Regions from separate parts of the Homo sapiens genome. Here region 1 is linked to region 2. Evidence: promoter capture Hi-C in 16 types of primary human blood cells and fetal thymus (Javierre and others, 2016). All regions are on one chromosome and are shown on one strand. Each heading gives the region's core, a stretch centred on a gene start or on the middle of the fragment in contact. The rest is flanking DNA. Distances are from core to core; before and after follow the strand shown. Region 1 has its middle 2.6 kb from the start of CFAP54. Region 2 holds the start of BLTP3B (bridge-like lipid transfer protein family member 3B).

Region 1 (4,549 bases), core at 1,109-3,608, 3.7 Mb before region 2:
TGTAAACATTTACCCCTAGACACTGCCTTGGGGTCAGAACCCCACAGCCTGCCTGTCTGTATACTCCCCTAGAGGTTTGAGCAGCGGGGCACTCAAGAAGCGATCCACACCCCCATCGCACGCCCTGCAAGGGGGACAAGGGAACTTTTCCGTTTCACTGGGATTACAGGTGTGAGCCACTGCGTGGGCTTTTAACATCTTTAATGTACTGTTTTTTTTTTTTTTTTTTTTTTTTTAAACAAAGCCTCTCTTGGCCGGGTGCAGTGGCTCACGGCTGTAATCCCAGCATTTTGGGAGGCTGAGGCAGGTGGATCACCTGCGGTCAGGAGTTCGAGACCAGCCTGGCCAACATGGTGAAACCCCATCTCTACTAAAAAACACAAAAATTAGCTGGGCGTGGTGGCGGGCGCCTGTAATCCCAGCTACTCGGGAGGCTGAGGCAGGAGAATCGCTTGAACCCGGGAGGCAGAGGTTGCAGTGAGTTGAGATTGTGCCATTGCACTCCAGCCTGGGCGATAAGAGTGAAAATCTGTCTCAAAAACAAAACAAAACCACAAAACCTCTCTCCTGAATACAGAACCAAGTCAAAACCAAGTCAGAATTACTCAGCATACCTTCCAACTCCCCATTGTATTTGATCACACTTCCCTTTCTGCCTCATCTTCTGCCTCCGGATCTATGGCAGCCTGTGGCTCACCACACTAGACAGCTTGTTTATTTAGACTTGCTGTATGTGTTTATGGCTTTGTACCTTACTCAGGCTTTTCTCTCAGTCAGGCATATCCTTCTAAATGCTCTTCATCTTTTTTTTTCTTTTTCTTCATTTGCTCATTCCAACAAAGATGTATTGAGCTGTACTCTGTGCCAGGTGCCAGATTTGGGTGCTAGGTTACCATGGGAAGAAGGTAAATGCTTGTTGCAAGGGTCTTTCTGTGAGTGAGAGGCATTTACGGTCTGGGGCTAAAACATCATCTCCTCTAGAATTCTCTGTTCTCTTTCCAGTTCCGAGATTCATCTTAGAACTCCCACAGTCTTCCTTCCCCCTTGCCCTCCCCTCCCCTGCCCCTCCCCTCCTCTCTCTTTTTTTTGAGAAAAGATCTTGCTCTGTAGCTCAGACTGGAATACAGTGGGGTGATTATAGCTCACTGCAGCCTCAAACTCCTGGCTCAAGTGATCTTTCTGCCTCAGCCTCTTGAGTAGCTGGGATTTCAGGTGCATGTGACCATGCCAGGCTAATTAAAAAAATTTTTTTTAAAAATCAGAGACAGGGTCTCACTGTGTTGCCCAGGCTGGTCTCAAACTCCTGGCCTCAAGCAATCCACCCACCTCGGCCTCCCAAAGTATTGAGATCACAGGCGTGAGTGACCACACCTGGCGGTCCCACATTTCTTAAAACCTTTCTCACAGCACATTCCACAGCATGCCTTTTCTTTTCTTTTTTCTTTTCTTTTCTTTTCCTTTCCTTTCCTTTCTTTTCTCTTTTCTTTTCTTTCTTTCTTTCTTTCTTTCTTTCTTTCTTTCTTTCTTTCTTTCTTTCTTTTCTCTCTTTCTTTCTTTTTCTTTTCCTTTTTTTTTTTTTTCTTTGAGATGGAGTCTCACTTTGTCACCCAGCCTGGGGTGCAGTGGCGCGATCTCGGCTCACTGCAACCTCGCCTCCTGGGATCAAGTGATTCTCCTGCCTCAGCCTCCTAAGTAGCAGGGATTACAGGCACATGCCACCATGTCCAGCTAATCCATAGCATGCCTTTTAATTATGATTATTTGAGTTTGTGTTATCTGCTTCCTGTAGGGAATGTATGGGTTCATCTATGCCTTGTATGGACACTAACAAAATGGTTGCATTTATCTGAATAAATGGATGAAGAAGTTTTAAAAAGTCTACATATTAGGTAGATCATATATATTGTATCTATTTGGGATAGTCCAAATGATTAACAACTAAATTGAGAATTGAAAGAGCACTAACCTTGCATATTCTTTAACAGTCAGTAGCTTTAGATAAAAAAGACTTTCGAATGGGCAAAAAGCTTCCCTGCAGCCTGCGAAGATGTTAATTATAAGAAATAGCAATTTACATTATTTATAAGGAAGCTATTTACAGTACTTAGGCTTGTCAGACACAGTAGTTGCACAGCTCCATTCTTTCATTACAGTGAGAAGAATAAAGCAAAGTGACAAGGAAAGAGAAAGATATTATAATGGCTGCATCTAATTACAAGGAAGATAACACCTCTAAAATGTTAAAAATGCCTCAAATTCAATTTATTTATTTTATTTTTATTATTTATTTATTTATTTATTTATTTATTTATTTATTTATTTTGAGATGGGGTCTAGCTCTGTCGCTAAGGCTGGAGTGAAGTGGCATGATCTCGGCTCACTGCAACCTCCACCTCCCGGGTTCAGGCGATTCTCCTGCTTCAGTCTCCTGAGTAGCTGGGATTACAGGTGTCCGACACCACGCCCAGCTAATATTTGTGTTTTCAGTAGAGACGGGATTTCAACATGTTGGCTAGGCTGGTCTCGAACTCCTGACGTCAAGTGATTCGCCCACCTGAGCCTCCTGAAGTGCTGGGATTACAGGCGTGAGCCACGACACCCAGCCAATTTAATTTAAACTAAATAAAATGTAAACTTCCATCTTATCATAATGATGATTCAGAATATAACACCCATTTAAATATTCAGACAAGCTTCCAAAAACTACTGCAAGTTAAGCATTGTTAGCTTTAGTGTGTGCAAGGGGGAAAGTGACTAAGATGCAATGTTTCATAATTCAGGTATTTGAATTTGCTTAGTCACATTTTCTTTTACCAGTGACTTTGAAATACAAGTGTCTGCCCTATGATAAAGTTTGTTTGTGACAGTAGCCAGATTAGAAGGAAAAACACCACTTTGTCTTTTATTTTTTTCTTTCCTTTTCTGTGACCACTTTAATTAATTTTATCCTGCTGTTTCACTTTCATCAATATAATAGATAGCACTCAGTGGCAAATTACACCAGTTTTTGATCTGCAATGGACAAGTCTGCCATGTTAGAGCAAGAAAAAGATGAGAAAAAAGAGAATTTACCAAGCCGACTTTTAAAAATGTCTATTAATATTTTTGTAAATGCCCAGTGATTATTTCTCTAGGACTACATTCTTTAAAGCCTTACAATTTTTGTTGTTCACTTAGAGAACAAGATAAAATCTTTGTTGATCAAAGGATGATATCTACATCCTGATTAGAGAATTGGACTCCTACAGTGAGGTGTCATTGCGTCTCACTGCTTGCCAGGAAGTTTCTCTGGCTATAATTAACTGTGCCGATGAGCAAAATTATTTTCCTTCAAAGAATATTAGGGTACAGTAGACATGACATATTAGGCCAGCCTCACAAATTAGCACAGGCCCACAGAGCCTGCATAAAATTAGGTCAGACTTGAAAGATATCAGGCTGTGGTCCAATAAGCTTCTTAGTCTGAAATGGAAAATTGGGTTCACAGGGTGTTAGGGTCACTGTCTTTATTTAAGTGTGATAGAACTGGTAACAATTTTCAGGGTTAAAGACTGATTTTTCTAAGCCACCAAATATTTCTGGTTCTTCTCTTAGATAATTTATTGTGTTGCATAATTTATAGAAAAGAAGGTTCTCCATTTTCTCAATACTCATACTTTAATAAATTTAACTCTGACTTTTGCCTATAATACACAGGCTAAGAATAAACTCCCCAAGTATTTCCCTGGAGGTCTGTAGTTTCCCCATCAGAAGTAAAGTCTCCTAAAAGCCCTGTTTAAAATGCAAAGTATTTTGAGAGTTAACACTTCAGGCCACTAGTATGTATTAATGTCCTATGGTTAAGGTTGAGCAAAATGCACATTAATTTAGAATACAGAGATAATTAAAGTAAGGCTGGAATGTGCATAAATAGATGTAATCATAATTATTAGAGGCATAGACATCATGTCCACAGTTACAGACCTCAAGGTACAAATAGAGGAAAGAGAATGGATCAGCTGCATATTCAGTACTCCCTGGCTATCTGTGGGGGACTAGTTCCATGACACCCGCAGATACCAAAATCTGTGGATGCTCAAGCCTCTGATATGAAATGCTGTAGTATTTGCATATAATTTGTGCACATCCTTCAGGATGTTTTAAATCATCTCTAGATAACTAGTAATACCTAATACAGTATAAATGCCATGTAAATAGTTGTATTTTGTGTTATTTTTATTGTTGTATTGTTATTTCTAATTTTGTTCTGAATATTTACAATCTGGAGTTGCTTGAATCCACAGATGAAGAACCCGAGATTTGGAGGGCCAACTGTATTTGATTCTTAAACTGCTTGTCAGATATTTCTCTAATTTCAATTTGATTAATAAGCTTTGTTTTGGGGAGTGATCAATACAGCCTATTCATTTTGAGCACAGGCTTTGGAGTCACAAGTTCCCTTTGGAGGACCTGGTCGCTGACACTACGGTTGTACGCTGACTTTTGTCAAATGACTTAACCTCCTTGAGCTTTGGTTTCCTAAACTGTGAGATGGATATACTAATAGTAT
Region 2 (4,219 bases), core at 1,413-3,912:
GAGATGACAGCAATTAGCAGTAAGATTAACTTATTAACCAAAAATAAAAATTTGATACTCTTTAGTCACCTGAGTTAAGGATGTTTTGAAATATGAAATAACTGAAAACTCAAGTGTCCCAAAAACTCATCTCTGAAAAAAAAAAAAATCCTCATCACACTATTTATCACACAGCTATTACAAATCATACAGATTTAGAAACTAACCCTAAGGGCCAGGCACGGTGGCTCACACCTGTAATCCCAGCACTTTGGGAGGCCAAGGCAGGCGGATCACCTGAGGTTGGGAGTTTGAGACCAGCCTAACCACCATGGAAAAACCCTGTCTCTACTAAAAATACAAAATTAGCCAGGCGTGGTGGCGCATGCCTGTAATCCCAGCTACTCGGGAGGCTGAGGCAGGAGAACTGATTGAAGCCAGGAGGCAGAGGCTGCCGTGAGCCGAGATCATGCCATTGCACTCCAGTCTGGGAAACAGAGTGAGACTCTGTCTCAAAAAAAAAAAAAAAAAAAAAAAAAATATATATATATATATATATATATAAAATAAAATAAAAACTAGCCCTAAAGACTCAATTTTCAATATATGGGTGTTTTCTATCTCATGCAGTAAGCCATTACATCTTTGTTCTTAATTTTTTTTATTATACTTTGGTATGCATGCTCTTAATTTTTAAGAGCCCCTCTCAAATGGAGTTCTATAAAAGAATTAAACTCTAATGCACTATCTGTTGATTGAATTAACTTTTCTTCCAAGCATCTAGAGTGGTACTAGCTATGCAGCATCATCCTTGGACGAGTGAGAAAGTAGGCATTCAAATCATTTTCTGCAGATCTGTATTTTCTTGTGGAGCTGGGTATGAGAAAGGCGGGAGGACATAAATTAAAAATAGATAAAACCTTCCAAAATAAGATAGTTCAAGATTGGGCCATATATATAATTTTAAAAGAAACTTTTCAATGAGTGATAACATTAAGAAATACATATTCATGCAGGGCGTGGGGGCTCACACCTGTAATCCCAGCACTCTGGGAGGCCGAGGACCGCGGATCACCTGAGGTTGGGAGTTCAAGACCAGCCTGGCCTGGTGAAACCCAGTCTCTACTAAAAAAATACTACATATATACACATATATATGTGTAGTGTATACACATATATATGTAGTACACATATATATGTATGTGTATATATGTGTATATATGTATATGTATATATGTACATATGTATATATATGTACACACACACACACACGCTGCTATACTTTGCTACTTTTAAGAAAAGTGCTATATCTTATTCAGTATTATAAGTGAGGAAAATATTTGCTGAATCACAGAAGTAGAATTCTGTTCCCAATATATAACCTGTGGTATAAGACAATCTGGGGAATCAAGAATTATGTTTACTATACAAGTCTATAATCATACCCGTGTCTTCCCAAAATTAGTTAAAATTAACTTACAAATCGAACAGAAAGGGATCCTAACCAAGGGCTTTGAGTTCGCTGGTAACAACTTGGAACAAGAGCCTACATTTAGCCTGTGTCTTGAGACAAACACGGAGAAGCCAAGAGCAGTAACAAACTGCCAGCCTTACTGAGTCATGTTTCTGACTAAAACCGCGTTATGAAATGGAGAGAATGACATGTCTTGGGTTTAATCACCACAGATGTTAACTCCCTGAATTTTAGAGTTGCAGAGGAAAAAGAGCAAAAACCAAAAAAAAAAAATGTTCAGTAATAATGATGTGGGTCTCATAGGACTCCAGAAAGAACCTGCCAAAGCTGCGAACTCTGCTTATTTACCTAAAACAAATCCTAACTGTGCAAACAGGCACACCCTCTGATGCCACAGAGCGGGAACGCCAAGGTGGGAGGAATTCAGAACAATCACAAGGTTAACGTTCCACTGAGAACACAGCCTCCACTGAGCGTCCACACTGCGCCAGAAGCCCTCGGTTAACGGAACCGCTCTGCTCCAAGGGGAAGGAGCACCGAACTCGAGTTAGAGCCCAGCACATTAACCAGGCACTTGGGTGACGCCAGGCCACCTCCAGCCTCCGCTCAGTACCGCACAGAGCCGAGCCGGGACGCCCCCAGACGCCGCGCCGGGAGCGATCCCAGCCCGCCGCGCTCCGCACTCCGGGCTCCTCCGCGCGCCCACCCTGGGAGAAGACGCGTCAGGGGCCGATTCGTGAGGCCAGCCCCCGGCGCCGCCGGCGACAAGAGATCCGGGGCCGCGACCTCTGCCCCGGCCAGAGCGGGGAAGTCCGAAGGTCGCCTCCCGCACAGCCGCCAGGCGCCGCCGCCCCCGAAGCCGCAGGCTGACTCCAGTGCGGGCTGGGGTGGAGGCCGACTGGCGCCGACACCGAGGCGCTCACTGACCTGGAGAGGTGCTTCAAGATTTGTTTCTTGATGATCCCGGCCATGGTACCGAGGCTGGAGACGCCGCGGTCTCGTCCTGTTGCTCACTGCCTCCTCTCTTCGTGGCCGTCTCCTCTCTGTCCCGGCTAGCCCGGCCGGCGGAGAGGCGCTGATCGCTCACGACCGGGAGAGACCCAAGGCCCCGGCCAAGGCCACAGCCGCCGCCGAGAACCCGGAGCATCACGCTCAGGCCGCCACGGCCGCCGCGGGCGCCATCTTGGCTGCAGCATCACCTAAGAGACTCGGTGGAGGGCGGGGGCGGGGCGGCTCCAGGCGGGGCCGGCACGAGGCGGGGCGGGGCCAACGCCGGCTCTGGGCGGGCTCTGGGCGGGCTCTGGCTGGGCTCTGGCTGGGCTCTGGGCGGGGGCGGGAGGTTTGTGGCATTGGCGCCAGGGTTCTTAGCCCTCGCGACACAGGGCCCTTGACTCTCAATACACCATCCTTCTTGGCCTTAATCCTCCCTCCTTCCCTCTGCTGGTGTTCCCGCCTCCATCGCTGACCCGTCGCTGATTTTTACTTCCACGTCCTACTTCCCTTATTCATTTCCTCAGAATGTTTTTTATTTTTTTGCTTGTTTGTTTTTTTTTTTGAGACAAGTCTTGCTCTGTCACACAGGCTGGAGTCCAGTGGTACGATCTCGGCTCATTGCAACCTCCACCTCCAGGGTTCAAGCGATTCTCCTGCTTCAGCCTCCTGAGTAGCTGGGATTACAGGTGCGCACCACCACGGCCGGCTAATTTTTGTATTATTAGAGACGAGGTTTCACCATATTGGCCAGTAGGTCTCGAACTTCTCACCTCGTGATCCACCCTCCTAGCCTCCCAAAGTGCTGACATTACAGGCGTGAGCCACTGCACCCGGCCTCCTTAGAATGTTTTAAGAATCGGCCATTAACTCCTGTGCTTGCTTTGCTCTCTTGACCTACTCACCTTTCTTCATATTCTTCCTTAGGTTTTTGTTTTTGGTGTTTTTTTTTTTTCTTTTGTTAAGGTGTCCTGCCTTTCCCTTACCTAAATGTGGCAATTTAATGTTTCCTTTGGTTATTGCTATTCTAAGGGAAGTAAAGGTTGACAATGGTTCCTAGTAGTCTAGGACCTAGGAATTAGAAGGTGTATAATTCAAGTCCTGGCTCTGGTATTTTCTAGCTGTGTTATCCTGGGGAAAATAATTTCTTTACTATTAGTTTCATTTTAATCATCTGTGAAATAGATTAATCATCAGCCTTACCCACTTCACTAGGTTGAACCTAAAGGTGTAAATATCATATGAAAAGTTCTGTAAGGAAGGAAGGAAATTGTTGAACTAGGGAAAACTGTTACAATTCTACACCTCCACCCCACCCAATCCCAAACAGAGCTAACATTTTCAGAGATTAAAATGACGACTTCTGTCATCCCAGCACTTTGGGAGGCCGAGGCAGGCAGATCACTTGAGGTCAGGAGTTCAAGACCAGCCTGACCAACATGGTGAAACTCTGTGTCTACAAAAAAAAAATACAAAAATTAGCTGGGCATAGTGGCGGGCGCCTGTAATCCCAGCTACTCAGGAGGCTGAGGCAGGAGAATTGCTTGAACCCGGGAGGCAAATGTTGCAGTGAGCTGAGATCAAGCCACTGCACTCCAGCCTGGGCGACAGAGCAAGACTGTCTCAAAAAAAAAAAAAATTACTCAGTGTTAAGTCAAGTTTAGCCTAACACTGCCTCCTTACGTAATTGAGTTCAGCCTAAAGGTTTTTCTGTACATCATGAACTTATGAAAATAAGCAGAGGTATAAACCGACCATAGCCCACACCTGTGCCAA

What was found. The method cuts DNA at HindIII sites, captures the fragments that hold promoters and counts their contacts. A CHiCAGO score of 5 or more calls a contact.
Region 1: a fragment that was not itself captured here is called in contact with the fragment with the promoter of BLTP3B in region 2 in 1 of 17 cell types (neutrophils); the score reaches 7.1 in neutrophils.

Annotation. Positions count from the first base shown.
Region 1 is chr12:96,484,653-96,489,201 of GRCh38, forward strand. No RefSeq gene overlaps it. Among named protein-coding and RNA genes, the nearest start is that of CFAP54, 2.6 kb to the right of the region's middle. RefSeq lists enhancers at 690-739, 750-889. The HindIII fragment of the contact is 666 bases long and covers 2,026-2,691 here.
Region 2 is chr12:100,140,212-100,144,430 of GRCh38, forward strand. It overlaps BLTP3B (bridge-like lipid transfer protein family member 3B), which reads right to left and starts at 2,663. Exons shown (of 21, transcript NM_015054.2): 1 at 2,381-2,663. The coding sequence starts at 2,424. It overlaps BLTP3B-DT (BLTP3B divergent transcript), which reads left to right and starts at 2,844. Exons shown (of 2, transcript NR_186018.1): 1 at 2,844-3,132. RefSeq lists silencers at 2,078-2,327, 2,648-2,827 and an enhancer at 2,208-2,971. The HindIII fragment of the contact is 10,318 bases long and covers 1-4,219 here.